Regions from separate parts of the Homo sapiens genome. Here all the other regions are linked to region 2. Evidence: promoter capture Hi-C in 16 types of primary human blood cells and fetal thymus (Javierre and others, 2016). All regions are on one chromosome and are shown on one strand. Each heading gives the region's core, a stretch centred on a gene start or on the middle of the fragment in contact. The rest is flanking DNA. Distances are from core to core; before and after follow the strand shown.

Region 1 (2,700 bases), core at 159-2,658, 220 kb after region 2:
TGAACTCCTGAGCTTAAAGTGATCCTCCCACCTTGGCCTCCCAAAGTATTGGGATTACAGACCTGAGCCACTGCACCTGGCTGAAAATACTTTGAAAAAAAAAAAAAGACTTGCCTTTTCTCATTGAATCATTTTGACTCCTTGTTGAGAATTAATTAACCATATGTATGGGTTTATTTCTGTACTCTCTTCTCTGTTCCATTGATATGTATAGTTTTCTTTATGCCAATACCAAACTGTCTCTTTTTTTAACCATATTATTTATTTATGTATATATGTATTTATTTATTTATTTATTTATTTATTTGAGATGGGGGTCTCACTCTGTTGCTCAGGTTGGAGTACAGTGGCATGATCTCAGCTCACTGCAACCTCTGCCTCCTGGGCTCAAGTGATCCTCCCGCCTCAGCCCCCCAAGTAGCTAGTGGGAGCCATCATGCCCGGCTAATTTTTAAATATTTTTTGTAGAAATAGGGTTTCACTGTGTTGCCCAGGCTGGTCTTGAACTCCTGAGGTCAGGTGATCCACCTGCTGCGGCCTCCCAAAGTGCTAGGATTACACATGTGAGCTGCTGTGTGTACCTGGCCTACTCTTTTTTTTTTGAAACGAGGTCTCACTTTGTCACCCAGGCTGGAGTGCAGTGGCACGATCTCAGCTCACTGCAGCCTTGTCCTCCCGGGTTCAAGTGATCCTCCTTCCACAGCCCCTCAAGTAGCTGGGACTACAGGCTTGCACCACCATGCCCAACTTTGCACTAGTCAGTGTGACAAGGTGAGAAAAAGAAAAAAGAAAACTATCTTTTTTCACAGATGGCATGATTGTCTATGCAGAAAATCCCAAGAGATCTAGACAAACTACAAGGTTTAGTAAGTGAAGGTCACAAGATGAGAAGTCAATATACAAAATAAACTGTATATTACACATCACTTCTGTGGTATTCTGGCCAAAGTGTGCAACCTAAATTAATCACAAGGAAACATCAGATACTTTGTACAATAAGTGATATCTGACAAAAATCACTGACCTCTACTCTTCAAAAACATCAAAGGCACAAACCCAAAGTCACAGGAGCCTTCCTTCCTTCCATTCTCCCTCCCCTCCTTCCCTCCCTCCTTCCTTTTTTTTTTTTTTTTTTTTTTTTTTTGAGATGGAATTTTGCTCCTGTTGCCCAGGCTGGAGTGCAGTGGTGCAATCTCGGTTCACTGCAACCTCCGCCTCCCAGGTACAAACGATTCTCCATCTTAGCCTCCCAAGTAGCTCGGATTACAGGCCTGTGCCACCATGCATGGCTATTTTTTTTGTATTTAGTAGGACAGGGTTTTCCCATGTTAGTCACCAGATGATAAATGCAGCTTCCCTGTCAGCTCCAAATCAGGCCTTTTATAAACAAGTATAGTCAAGGTCAGGAAGAAAACTTCCCTTCTGTATAATTGTCTTTCTTGTTTCCTTTGCATAATCAGCTGTGCACAAAGAGAGCTATAGTTATGTTCTGTTTTTCTCAGCAAAAGGCTTTATTGTCCAATTTTATAATTTCACAGCATGTCAGTTAGAAAAGAGACTAAGTCAGTAACAAAATATACCCAACCAAAAGTGGCTGCATTCATCTTTTTTTTTTTTTTTTTTTTTTTTGAGACGGAGTCTCGCTCTATTGCCAGGCTGGAGTGCAGTGGCGCAATCTTGGCTCACTGCAACCTCCGCCTCCTGGGTTCAAGTGATTCTCCTGCCTCAGCCTCCCGAGTAGCTGGGACTACAGGCACGCGCCACCATGCCCAGCTAATTTTTTTGTATTTTTAGTAGAGATGGGGTTTCACTATGTTGGCCAGGATGGTCTCGATCTCCTGACCTCGTGATTTGCCTGCTTTGGCCTCCCAAAGTGCTGGGATTACAGGTGTGAGCCACTGTGCCCAGTCTTTTTGTTTCGTTTTTTGTTTTTTGGCAGAGTCTTGCTCCGTCACCCAGGCTGGAATGCAGTGGCACAATCTCGGCTCACCATCACCTCCAACTCCTGGGTTCAAGCGATTCTTGTGCCTCAGCCTCTCGAGTAGCTGGGATTATAGGTGCCTACCACCATGTCCAGCTAATTTTTGTATTTTTAGTAAAGACGGTGTTTCACCATGTTGGCTAGGCTGGTCTTGAACTCCTGGCCTCTTGTCCACCAGGCTTAAGTGCAATGGTGCGATCTCAGCTCACTGCAACCTCCGCCTCCTGGGTTCAAGCAATTCTCGTGCCTCAGCCTCCCGAGTAGCTGGGACAACAGGCGTCTGCCACCATGCCTGGCTTAAATTTTGTATTTTTAGTAGAGATGGGGTTTTACCATGTTGGCCAGGCTGGTATTGAACTCCTAACCTCAAATGATCCGCCTGCCTTGGCCTCCCAAAGTGCTGGGATTACAGGCGTGAGCCACCGCGCCTGGCCTCAGCTTGGGTTTTTCAATGCAGATTGCTAACATGAATTGCTACTCTCAATTCCTTGAGAGAACAGACTTGTGAGGAGTTCTCCCGAGAAGAATTTTCACCTCTTCTTTGGTGTCCCCCCAAGCTAAGGCCAAGACAGACAGGCCTCCCAGGGACTCTTTCCACAGGCTTATTTCCCCTTCATGTAACTAGTGTGGGCGTTGCCTTTGGGGAGTCCTCAGTTCTATGCAGTGTGGTGAGGATCTCTGAGATGCCACTCTCCCTTGCTTGGAGCCTAGGTTTTCTC
Region 2 (2,700 bases), core at 113-2,612:
GTGTATTACTCCGCGTATGTTGTTGTGTGGCCACGCATGTTGGAATATAACGTGTTGGGTTGTGTGGAGGTATTGTATGTCATGTTTGGGTGTGGCTCATGGCTCAGAGGTGATGGTGTATGTTGCGTTTGTTTTTTTGTTTTTGCTTGTTTTAGAGATAGGATCTTGCTATGTTGCCCAGGCTGGTCTCAAACCCCTGGGCTCCAGCAATCCTCCCACCTCAACCTCCCAAACTGCTGGGATTACAGGCATGAGCCACTGCACCCAGCCGTATGTTGCATTTGGGCACTGGGGTCTATGAAGGTCCAACCCCATCCCCTTCCCCCAGGGCATCATCCTGGATGTTGTCCTGTGTGGCCAGAATATACCAGAATCATCTTGCTTCAGGCATGTGCTTCTTGGGTTTCTCCGTGTGTCGCTGTACCTTGTAGGTCTCTGCATGCATCCACTCAGCTTGTCCTCTGACCATACATTTGAATCGCACCACACATCAGAGCATGCTGAATCAGTGCGTGTTTTGAATCATCACTGCGAGCACTTGTGTTCGAGTCAACAGGCGCCACAATGTATGTGCAATTCTCTAGCTCTGGGTGATTGGGGGCTACTATAGGTATGTCCCTAAATGTTGTGTGTCTACACGTATTGGGTTTCGTTCCAAGGGTGTGTAGTGTTTAGGAAACTGGGACTGCACAGTGTTTGTGTCGGTGTGTGGTGTGTGGCATCAGGGCGTCACTACTTTAATATATATTGTGTGTTTGTGTAACACCTGGTGTATGTTGTGTTTGTGTGGCCACAGTTGTGCATCGTCCTATTTGTGGTGTTTGGGTGTGGCTCTTTGTGTCAGAGAAAGTTGTGACAACTTTGAGTGTAATATTTGTGCCTGTGTGTGGACGGTGTTTGGGTGGCTGTGTGTGCCACGGGATACTGCCTGCTTGCTAAGTGCTGGTGTGTGTCACACCATGTGTGTGGTGTCTGGGTGTGGCTGTGGGTTTCAGAGCTTGCTGGGAGTTGTGAGTCACTCTGTGTAGGTTGTGTTGTGTGCCCTGGTGTGTTAGTCTCCGTCTTGGGCTGTGGAGTGTCCTTCGGTGTCTGGGTGTGGTGAGTAGAGGTGTGTGTCACAAAGTACAGACCATTGTGTGTGACAAAGCCCATCGTGTGTCTGTGTGTGTCTTTATCCACGTGGATGGACGTCTCTTTCTTGCTCTGCCCCAAGACACACCCTAGCCCCTCCTTATTCTCAAAAGGGGGAGCTGGGGAGCCTCCCCCTACCCTGGGGCCTCCCCTGCCCCTCCCCGCCCTGCCTGGCCGTCACCACTCCCCAGAGGGCACAGGGCTCTGCTGTGCCTCAGAGCAAAAGTCCCAGAGCCAGCAGAGCAGGCTGACGACCTGCAAGCCACAGTGGCTGCCCTGTGCGTGCTGCGAGGTGGGGGACCCTGGGCAGGAAGCTGGCTGAGCCCCAAGACCCCGGGGGCCATGGGCGGGGATCTGGTGCTTGGCCTGGGGGCCTTGAGACGCCGAAAGCGCTTGCTGGAGCAGGAGAAGTCTCTGGCCGGCTGGGCACTGGTGCTGGCAGGAACTGGCATTGGACTCATGGTGCTGCATGCAGAGATGCTGTGGTTCGGGGGGTGCTCGGTGAGTGGGGCATGGTGGCTGGGAGCTGGGACTCCTAGGTCTGAGGGAGGAGGGGCTGGGGGTCAGGACTCTTGGGTCTGAGGGAGGGGGGGCTGGGGGTCAGGACTCCTGGGTCTGAGGGAGGAGGGGCTGAGGGTCAGGACTCCTGGGTCTGAGGGAGGAGGGACTGGGGACTTGGACTCCTGGGTCTGAGGGAGGAGGGACTGAGGGCCTGGACTCCTGGGTCTGAGGGAGGAGGGGCTGGGGGTCAGGACTCCTGGGTCTGAGGGAGGAGGGGCTGGGGTCTGGACTCCTGGGTCTGAGGGAGGAGGGGCTGGGGGTCAGGACTCCTGGATCTGAGGGAGGAGAGGTTGGGGGCCTAGACTCTTGGGTCTGAGGGAGGAGGGGCTTTGGCTGGGACTCCTGGGTGCTCCCAGGAGACAGTTGCTGGGGTCCTTCTCTGCAAAAGGAAGGGAATATTTGTTTCAGTGTTTCAGTCTTTGAAGATGTTGCCATTAGACGGCCAGAGGTCCAGGACCCCTGGAGGCCAGAGGGTGGCTGATCAGACACTCAAGCCCCCCAAGAGCCAATAAGGGGAGAGGTAGCCCCAGGTTTGGTGAAGGGAGAGTGGAGGAAAGACAAAGTTCTTCCAGTAGGCGGCAGCTCTTTGGTCCTTGTCTAACCTCTAATGTTTACCCAGTGCCTTAGATGCAAAGGACAGAAAAAACTGCCTTGGGGGTGGGGATGGGAAATGGGAAACAAACCTCTCCCCCGACCTGCCTCCCCCCACCAACCCCAACCCAGTCTCCACTGTTAACAAGCTCAATTTCTCCCCAAATCTGCATGCTGATTAGTCAGGGAAATAGTGGAGAGGTAGGCTTACAGTGGCCTGGACTCCTAGGTACCAGGAGAGGAGGGGGCTGGGTCCTGGATTCCTGAGTCTTAAGGAGAAGGGGGTTTTGATTGCTTTTGGGGAAGAGGGGCTGACTCCGAAGATGAGTGGTGAGTAGGGAAGAAAGGGGAAAGTGGGGTCAGGGCAGGTCTCAGCAGGCTCCCGTCACATTCCAGCCCTGGTCAGGCCAGTGATGG
Region 3 (2,700 bases), core at 150-2,649, 180 kb after region 2:
ACCCGAAACAGAAGGTATCTCTGTTTGATTCCAAACCAGTTTCCCCACAAAGCGAGGCCAACTCTGGCCTGAGTTCCCCCACCTGCCCACACCCTTATGTTCTCTGGAAATTCCCACTCAAAAGCCAGAGCTCCCTGTTTAGACATTTTAATATGGATGTTTTCTGTTTTTAGATACTATTCCTGTTAGCTTATTCATACCATTTCACCTACACATATGAAAAAAATATTTCAGGACTAGAATGATATACAAAATTATTTCAACGAGACATAAATTATCGGGGGACTAGTGCCATCTAGTGCCATGGCCCCTCTAAGTGAGGATGGCAGGGGGTGGAAAAGAGACACAAGGACTCCAATTGCTACCCCCACTCAATTGGGGTCCAGCTCCCAACTTTGCTGCCCCATCCCCAAAAGCCCAAGTTGCTCCACATCTGGAACTCACCTGGTGGCATTACAGGCCAGCAACACCTCACCTTTCCTGCCCCCATTCAGGCAAAGGTCCAGGGCAATTTGCTCCCATAGCCCATGGCATCCATCTGGGAAGAATGAAGGGTGATGGCACAATCTGCAGCTAGGTATTTAACTGGGAATAAGGGAGACACAAACCATTTCTCTCCCGCACTCCCTTCCCATTTTTTTTTTTTAACAAAAGATCTCATTATTATCTGATTTCACTGTCTCACGAAGGCCCTGTGTGCTCCAAAGACTGAAGCTCTAAATAAGAATCTTCTGGGTCCTCTTTATTAAGAGCCCTCTGCCTTCCCAGGGGAGGGAAGCAAATCCTTCAGGGCCCCCAGAGTTCCTGCACCCCATATCATGGGTGAGTCCTACCAGCCACAGAGCCACCCGTCACCGTGGAGAGGCTTAAGCTGCACTCAGAGCTCCCCCCGGGCATGCCGAATGTAGTGTTGATGCAGCCCTGCTTCCTGAGCAAAGTCCTGACCGCACTCTGTGCAGGCGAAGGTGCCAGGAGGGGCACGGACCTCATGCATCTGGCGGTGCCGCCTCAGAGAAACAGCCTGCCCAAAGGTCTTGCCACAGTCAGGACAAGGGAAGGTGGGCTGGGCAGTAGTGGTTGCAACCGGCAGGGTGGGCTTGGCGGCTGGACCGTGGCTGCGCTGGTGGGTGATTAGGGCTTTGGAGGAGGGGAAGGAGCGGGCGCAGGTGAAGCAGATGAAGAGGACCCCCTGCAGCTTCTGGGCCACGAAGTCCGCTGGGTGCTCCCGCTTCATGTGACGCTCCTGGAACTTGGAATCTGCGAAGGTGATGAGGCAGCGGGTGCACTTCGGGGCCCCCAGGTGGCCTGAGGAATGTGGGGGAGAGGTCAGGGGAGGCCAGCAGGAGTCTCCAAGACCTCTTCCTGAACCCCAGAATCACACCAACAATTAACATTGAATGTGTTATGTGCTAGGTTCTATGCTAATGCTGGACAACCAAACAGGAGAACTGTTCTTGCACCTATTTTATGGATGAGCAAACTGAGATTCAAAGAGGTTAGGCAAGTTGCCCATAGTCATGAGGCTAGGAAAGGAAATGGTGGAGCCAGGGTTGGAACCCAGAGAGTCAGCCTGCCCAACAGAGGGGTATGGTGATTACAGCACAGCCTTTGGAGCCAGACTGCTTGGGATTGAATCTCACCTCCACCACTTCCTAGGCAATTACACCAGTTTCCTTATCTGGAAAATGGGCTAATAACAGTATCTACTCCATAGGACCGTTGGAAGGAATAAATGAATTGCTGTACAGTCATTTGCAATTATGACTAATGATACAGAGAAATCCAGCCCGACATCCAGGATCTGGCCTGGTACTCACAGCTAGACCTTGGTGTTCTGTTGAACATAAATTTTCACAGAATATCAAGGACAGACAAGGCCACGCTGTGACTAAAATGAATCAAGACAAGACTACATCATCATAATGTCTGAGCACAGACAAAATATGAATACTGTCCAAGCAGAAAAATGACCAAACATCCTCCTATCCTGGCTAATGTGAATGTCTGCTGCTGCTTTATCAGTCAGAGCTTGAGCCTCGCCTCCTTCCTTCCTCCTTCTGGGTAAGATTTATTACGATAGCCAATCATAGAATTGCCCCTGCTTCCTGGTAGCATCCAATCCAGAGCAAAACAATTTTGCTTGAACCTTCCCCAAAATCACCACCCACAAGCCCAAATCCTGTGTCGTTTTTACCATTCTTAGTGAGACACCCCACAGTCCCCCCATGGTCTGTGTTCATTGCAGTGAGAAACCCAACGTGTTCAACTGCAGGTGTGTTCCTGGTAGTCTCTGGCTCAAGGGCATTGAGACTACAGCTCTTGTTACAAATACCTCTCTCTGCCTCAGTTCCCAGTTTAAAGGGCCTATTATTAGAAGGACTCAATGAGATAATGAATGTTAAAATGGTTCATAATATGAGAATAAATACACCTAGCTCATAATAAAACACTGAGCAGGAGGTGTTGCTATTACATGTCAAACTGGCTACCATCATTAACCCCTAGCTTTCCCCTTTGCTGCAGTTAATCCCATACCCACCCTGTGAGGTGGGAAGTACCACCCTCTTTTGACAGTCAAGGAAACCAAGGCCCAAGTTACACTGAAAGTCTAGGGCAGAGTTGGGACCAGAATCTTGGGGTTTCTCTCCCAATAGAACCATTCCCAGCCACATCTCCAACCCAAGCCTCTCCTGGAAGCCA
Region 4 (2,700 bases), core at 17-2,516, 140 kb after region 2:
GCGCCTGTAATCTCAGCTACTCGGGAGGCTGAGGCAGGAGAATCACTGGAACCTGGGAGGCAGAGGTTGCAGTGAGTCGAGATCGTGCCACTGCACTCCAGCCTGGGCAACAGAGCGAGACTCCGTCTGGGCGGGGAGGGGGGAGGGGGGAAGGAAAGATGTTCATAATTGGCACTTCTGGACCTCAGTTTGCCTGACAAATGGGCATGAGAGAGGTCGAGGCCTTCTTTCCATGGTTTCTCACTCTTTCTGGGTCCCATAGGTAATGATCCCGCATCAGGTCTACAGGGTGTCACAGAAGTGGGCTCAGGGAAACCCACTCCCAGGAGGGAGAAGGGACCTAAGTCTGGAGGGGTGAGTCACCCTCAAAGATGGGGAGAGAGGAAGGGCAGAGGCAAATACATGCAGAGAGAGGGAGAGAGGCTGGGGCAGGGAGACAGCAGGGAGGAGAGGGGACGCCAGGGCTTGGAAGGTGTTCACAGGAGCCTCTCCCTCCTGGGACCCAGGATTCAGGCTTCCTTCCAGTTAGTTCACTTTCAGGGGGCCCCTCCCGGAGAATGACGCGGAAACACGGGGTTTTCAGGTCAGGACAGGAGAGAGGGAGGGAGGGAACTGACCCCACCCCACTCCTGAGCCCCAGCCTCGCCCTGCCCTGGGAGATCCTTGACCTGCCTCGACCTCCGGACCCTCCGGACCTCCAGCTGCAGCCTCCCCTGTCCCGGTGGCTCAGCTCACAGCCTCTCGCTAGACTCCAGACACCCACCTGCCCGCAGCACGCCTCTCACACTCACCTTTCCCACGTCGCACTCCCTCCCTTACGCTCCCCCGTCACGCTGGCCACGCTCTCCCTTCGCACACACCGCACCCCACGACGCCCGCGCCCCCACCCTCGCACAGCCTCCAGCAACACCCTGCCACCCTCCCCTCCGCGCAGCGCAAGCACCCTGCATGCCAGCAACTCCGCACCCTCGCGCGCAGCACCTGGGCCCGCACGCAGCACCCTCACCCAACACCCTCCATTTCCCGCGCTCACCGAGATCCCCCACCTGCTCCCACGCCGCTGTCGCCCTCCCGCGCACCCCTTCCCGCCCTCCTCACCCCTCTCCTCTCCAGCTTTCGCACCCCGCACCGTTCCCCCACCGTGCCGTCCCCCCGATTGTCTCCGGGCCTCTCCTCCGTCTCCCCCTCCCCTCCCCGGCCCCGCCCCGGCCTCGGCGCCCCGCCCCCGGGCGGGCAGGGGGCGGGGCGCGGGGGGCGGGGCGGGCGGCGCGGGCGGTGCAGGTGCCGGGCCGGGAGCGAGCGGCGGCGGCGGCGGCGGCGGCACCATGGGCCGGGCCCGGCGCTTCCAGTGGCCGCTGCTGCTGCTGTGGGCGGCCGCGGCGGGGCCAGGTAGGGTCGGGGGCCGGGGTCGGCCGGCCGGGCTGGGGCGGGGGGCGCGCTGTGGTGACAGCCCGGCAGCCTCGGGGCCGCAGAGGCCGAACAATGCGCGCGGGGCCGGGCCGGGCCCCCTCCCCGGGACAAAGCGCAGCGCGGGCCGGGAGCCGGGAGCGACGAGCGGGGGAGGGGGCGCGGGGCCCGGCCGCCGTGCCGCAGCCCCCCCACCCGCGCAGGCTGGATCCCGGCGGGGACAAAGGGCCCGAGACCCCCCTACACACACAAGTCCGCCCTCCCCAGGCCGGTCCCGCTGTCCTTCTGTCCAGTCTCTGCGTCCCTCTGTCCGCCCGTCTCTGAACCCCCCCGTCTGGCTCCTCGTCCCCCTACCCTTGTCCTCTATCCCTCAGTCTCGAAGTCCTGTCCCTCCTTCTGTCTGTCTCCCTCTCTTCTTGCCTCGGTGTTCCTCATCTATTCTGTCTTTGTCCCCTACCTCTGTCCCCTGGTCTCTGTCCCCTTTTCCTGGGTCACTCTGTCCCCTCCATCATCCTGTCTATTCTCTTTCCCCCGGATTTCTGCCCTCCCTCTCTGCCCCTATTCTTGGTCCCTGTCTCTGTCTCGCTGTCACCCTTGTTTTTCTGTCCCTTTTTCTCTGTCCCCTATCTGCCCCATCCCCTTGTCTCTGTCCCCTGTCTTTCTGTCACTCGTTTCTCTAACCCTTTCTGTCACCTGTCTCTTTCCCCCTTCTCTGTCCCACTATCTCCATCCCTGTCTTTCTGCTGTGCCTCCTCTCTCTACGCTTACAGCCTCCATCCCGGGATCTCCCATTCCCATCCTACCTTCCTCCCTCTCTCTATCCCTCTGTGCCCCTGAAGAGGAATTCAGTCAGGCAGGGCATTCTAAAGAGCCCTGGAGGGGAACATCTGTGTGCATGTGTGTGGGGAAGTGAGAATGGGGGACCTTGGCGTGTAGGCACACACGTGGATTCAGCGAATGCCTCTCCAAACCCTGCTCACCCATTCACACACCCAGGCTTGACTCACAGAGAAGCCCCTGTCCAGGACATCCAGGGAGCCATCCACATACCCTCATCACACACTGTGAGAAGCTGGAGACCCCCGAGGTTGGGTGACCCTGAGAATGGGGACAAGGTCAGGAAATGTCACCCACACACACTCTCACACTGTGTAAGTCTTGAACCTGCCACGGGTCACCCCTCCCTGGTGGATAAGGCCACTTTTGGAAGGAACAGAGGATTGGAAGGTGGCTAGGCAGAAGCAGGAGGGCTGGGTGTTCGGCAGAGATTGGTGAGAGGAGTTATAACCAGGT
Region 5 (2,700 bases), core at 140-2,639, 240 kb after region 2:
TCTGAGGCAGAGTCTCACTCTGTCGCCCAGGCTGGAGTGCAGTGGCATGATCTTGGCTCACTGCAACCTCTGCCTCCTGGGTTCAAGGGATTCTTGTGCCTCAGCCTCCCGAGTAGCTGGGATTACAGGCGTTTGCCACCACGCCCAGCTAATTTTTGTTTTTTAGTAGAGGGGGGTTTTGCCACGTTGGCCAGGCTGGTTTTGAACTGACCTCAGGTGATATGCCCGCCTCCACCTCCCAAAGTGCTGGGATTACAGGCGTGAGGCACCATGCCCGGCCATGTCCATGTGTTCTCATCATTCAGCTCCAACTTATAAGTGAGAACATGCAGTGTTTGATTTTCTGTTCCTGCGTTAGTTTGCTGAGGATAATGGCTTCCAGCTCCATCCATGTCCCTGCAAAAGATGTGATCTCATTCCATTTTATGGCTGCATAGTATTCCGTGGTGTATATGTACCAAATTTTCTTTATCCAATCTATGGACACTTTCTACTCTCTCACTCCTTCCACCACAACTTTCAGATCTCAGTTCAGACATTACATCCTCAACAAGGCCTTTCCTAACCTCCACTGTATAATAGGATATGCCAGGTACACACTCTTAAAATACTATATCTCATCCATCCTAGTCATAACTTTACATTCATTTATGGTCACATTTACCCATGTTTTCATCTATGATTTACATTCTTTTGTCTCTTAAGGATACTGTCTCTACTTCTGGAGTTACTAAGATAATTCTTCTTATTTCCATGTAAATATTTTTGAGTTCTTCTCTTCAGATTTAGATCTTAAACTCCCAGAAACTTGTTTTTGCATATGGTGTGAGGTAGGGATCTGCAGTAGTTTCCCATTGTTGCTGTAACAAATTGCCATAAGCTTAGTGGTTTTAAACTACACAAGTTAATTTTATTATAGTTCTGGAGGTCAGTAGTCCAAAATCAGCCTTATTGGGCTAAAATCAAGTGTCAGCAGGGCTGCAATCCTTCTGGAGGCTCTAAGGAGGAATTTATTTCCTTGCCCTTTGTAGGCAAAATTCCTTGACTTGGGGCCTTTCATCACTCGAATGTTTGCTTTCATGATCACCTCTCTCTGTCTTCTGCGTCCTTCTTTCCCATATAAGGACCTTTGTGATTATATTGGGCCTATCTGAATAATCAGGATAACTTACCCATCTCAATCACATCTGCAATGTCCCTTTTGCTACATGCAAGCTAACATACAGGTTCTGGGGATTCAAATGTGGATATCTTTGGGGGATCATTCTTCTACATACCAGGGGATTCAACTTAATTTTTCCCCATGTCTCTTAGCCTTATTTATGATTAGTCTGTCCATCCTCCACTCATCCATGTCAAGGCTCAACAAACTATAGCCCATAGGCAAAATCCAGCCTACCTAGTGTTTTGGTAAATGTTTATTGGAACACAGCCATGCTCATTCATTTATGTATTGTAATGTGTGTGGCTGCTTTCCTGCTACAGTGGCAGAGTGGAATAGTTGTGGAAGACACTGTATGGCCTGCAAAACTTAAACATATAACAGATGCAGCTGGGCTTGGCGGCCCACGCCTGGAATCCCAGGACATTGGGAGGCCAAGACAGGAAGATCACTTGAGGCTAGGAGATTGAGACCAGCCTGGGCAACATAGTGAGACCCCATCTCTACAAAAAAATTTACAAAAAAAATTTAGCTGGGGGCTGGGCGCAGTGACTCACGTCTGTAATTCCAGCACTTTGGGAGGCCAAGGCAGGTGGACCACTTGAGGTCAGGAGTTAGACCAGCCTGGTCAACATGGTGAAACCCCATCTCTACTAAAAATACAAAAATTAGCTGGGCATGGTGGTGCACACCTGAAATCCCAGCTACTCAGGAGGCTGAGGTAGGAGAAGCTTGAGCCCAGGAGGCAGAGGTAGGTTGCAGTGAGCGGCGATCATGCCACTGCATTCCAGCCTGGACAACAAAGCAAGACTCCATCTCAAAAATAAATAAGCCGGGTGTGGTGGTGCTTGCCTGTAGTCCCAGCTACTTGGGAGGCTGAGGTAGGAGGATCGCTTGCGCCCAGGAATTCAGGGCAATGAGCTGCGATTGTGCCACTGCACTCCAGCCTGGACAACAGAGCAAGACCCTGTCTAAAAAACAAAACAAAACAAAACAAAACAAAAAAAACCCAATGCCCTTTGACTTACAATGATGCTACATCCGGATGAACCCATCATAAAGTTGGAGAATCCTGAAATCAAACCATTGTTAAGTCAGGGGACATCTGTACTCTTTGGCCCTTTATAGAAAAAGGTTGCCACTCCCAGGTCTACAGGTCCAGTTTGTCATATGTCAGCATAAGCACAGGTCTGTTTCTGAGCTCTCAATTGTCTTCCACTGGCCCGTTTTCAAGCCACCACCACCAATTTCATTACTGCACAGCTTTGTAATCTTGTATCTGGGTTGAGGGGGTGGGGAGCCAAGGCTCTCCTACTTGTTCTTCTAAATGGACTTGGGGCCGGGCATGGTGGCTCATGCCTGTAATCCTAGCACTTTGGGAGGCCAAAGTGGGAGTCCAGAAGTTCAGACTAGCCTGGGCAACATAGACCCTGTCTCTACATACATACACACATGGATGAATGAATGACTTGGCTGCTGCTGCTTTTTTTTTTTTTTTTGAGGCAGGCTCTCTGTCGCCCAGGCTGGAGTGCAGTGGT

Evidence for each region. The method cuts DNA at HindIII sites, captures the fragments that hold promoters and counts their contacts. A CHiCAGO score of 5 or more calls a contact.
Region 1: a fragment that was not itself captured here is called in contact with the fragment with the promoter of KCNN4 in region 2 in 5 of 17 cell types (activated CD4 T cells, non-activated CD4 T cells, M0 macrophages and 2 more); the score reaches 9.3 in activated CD4 T cells.
Region 3: a contact is called between a fragment that was not itself captured here and the fragment with the promoter of KCNN4 in region 2, in 14 of 17 cell types (activated CD4 T cells, M2 macrophages, non-activated CD4 T cells and 11 more). The highest score is 11.7, in activated CD4 T cells.
Region 4: the fragment with the promoter of CADM4 here is called in contact with the fragment with the promoter of KCNN4 in region 2 in 8 of 17 cell types (total CD4 T cells, neutrophils, M1 macrophages and 5 more); the score reaches 8.7 in total CD4 T cells.
Region 5: a fragment that was not itself captured here is called in contact with the fragment with the promoter of KCNN4 in region 2 in 2 of 17 cell types (activated CD4 T cells and fetal thymus); the score reaches 7.2 in activated CD4 T cells.

What each region holds. Positions count from the first base shown.
Region 1 is chr19:43,556,237-43,558,936 of GRCh38, reverse strand. The region is part of intron 3 of XRCC1 (X-ray repair cross complementing 1); the gene reads left to right. Among named protein-coding and RNA genes, the nearest start is that of XRCC1, 18 kb to the left of the region's middle. The HindIII fragment of the contact is 4,144 bases long and covers 1-2,700 here.
Region 2 is chr19:43,779,635-43,782,334 of GRCh38, reverse strand. KCNN4 (potassium calcium-activated channel subfamily N member 4) reads left to right here and starts at 1,362. Exons shown (of 9, transcript NM_002250.3): 1 at 1,362-1,632. The coding sequence starts at 1,474. RefSeq lists a silencer at 1,111-1,380 and enhancers at 1,987-2,116, 2,475-2,700. The HindIII fragment of the contact is 12,714 bases long and covers 1-2,700 here.
Region 3 is chr19:43,597,436-43,600,135 of GRCh38, reverse strand. It overlaps ZNF576 (zinc finger protein 576), which reads right to left. Exons shown (of 3, transcript NM_001145347.2): 3 at 1-1,305. The coding sequence ends at 878. Among named protein-coding and RNA genes, the nearest start is that of ZNF576, 2.2 kb to the right of the region's middle. The HindIII fragment of the contact is 3,632 bases long and covers 1-2,700 here.
Region 4 is chr19:43,638,416-43,641,115 of GRCh38, reverse strand. It overlaps CADM4 (cell adhesion molecule 4), which reads left to right and starts at 1,266. Exons shown (of 9, transcript NM_145296.2): 1 at 1,266-1,389. The coding sequence starts at 1,326. RefSeq lists a silencer at 1,243-1,382. The HindIII fragment of the contact is 9,580 bases long and covers 1-2,700 here.
Region 5 is chr19:43,537,243-43,539,942 of GRCh38, reverse strand. No RefSeq gene overlaps it. Among named protein-coding and RNA genes, the nearest start is that of ZNF575, 5.4 kb to the right of the region's middle. The HindIII fragment of the contact is 1,013 bases long and covers 883-1,895 here.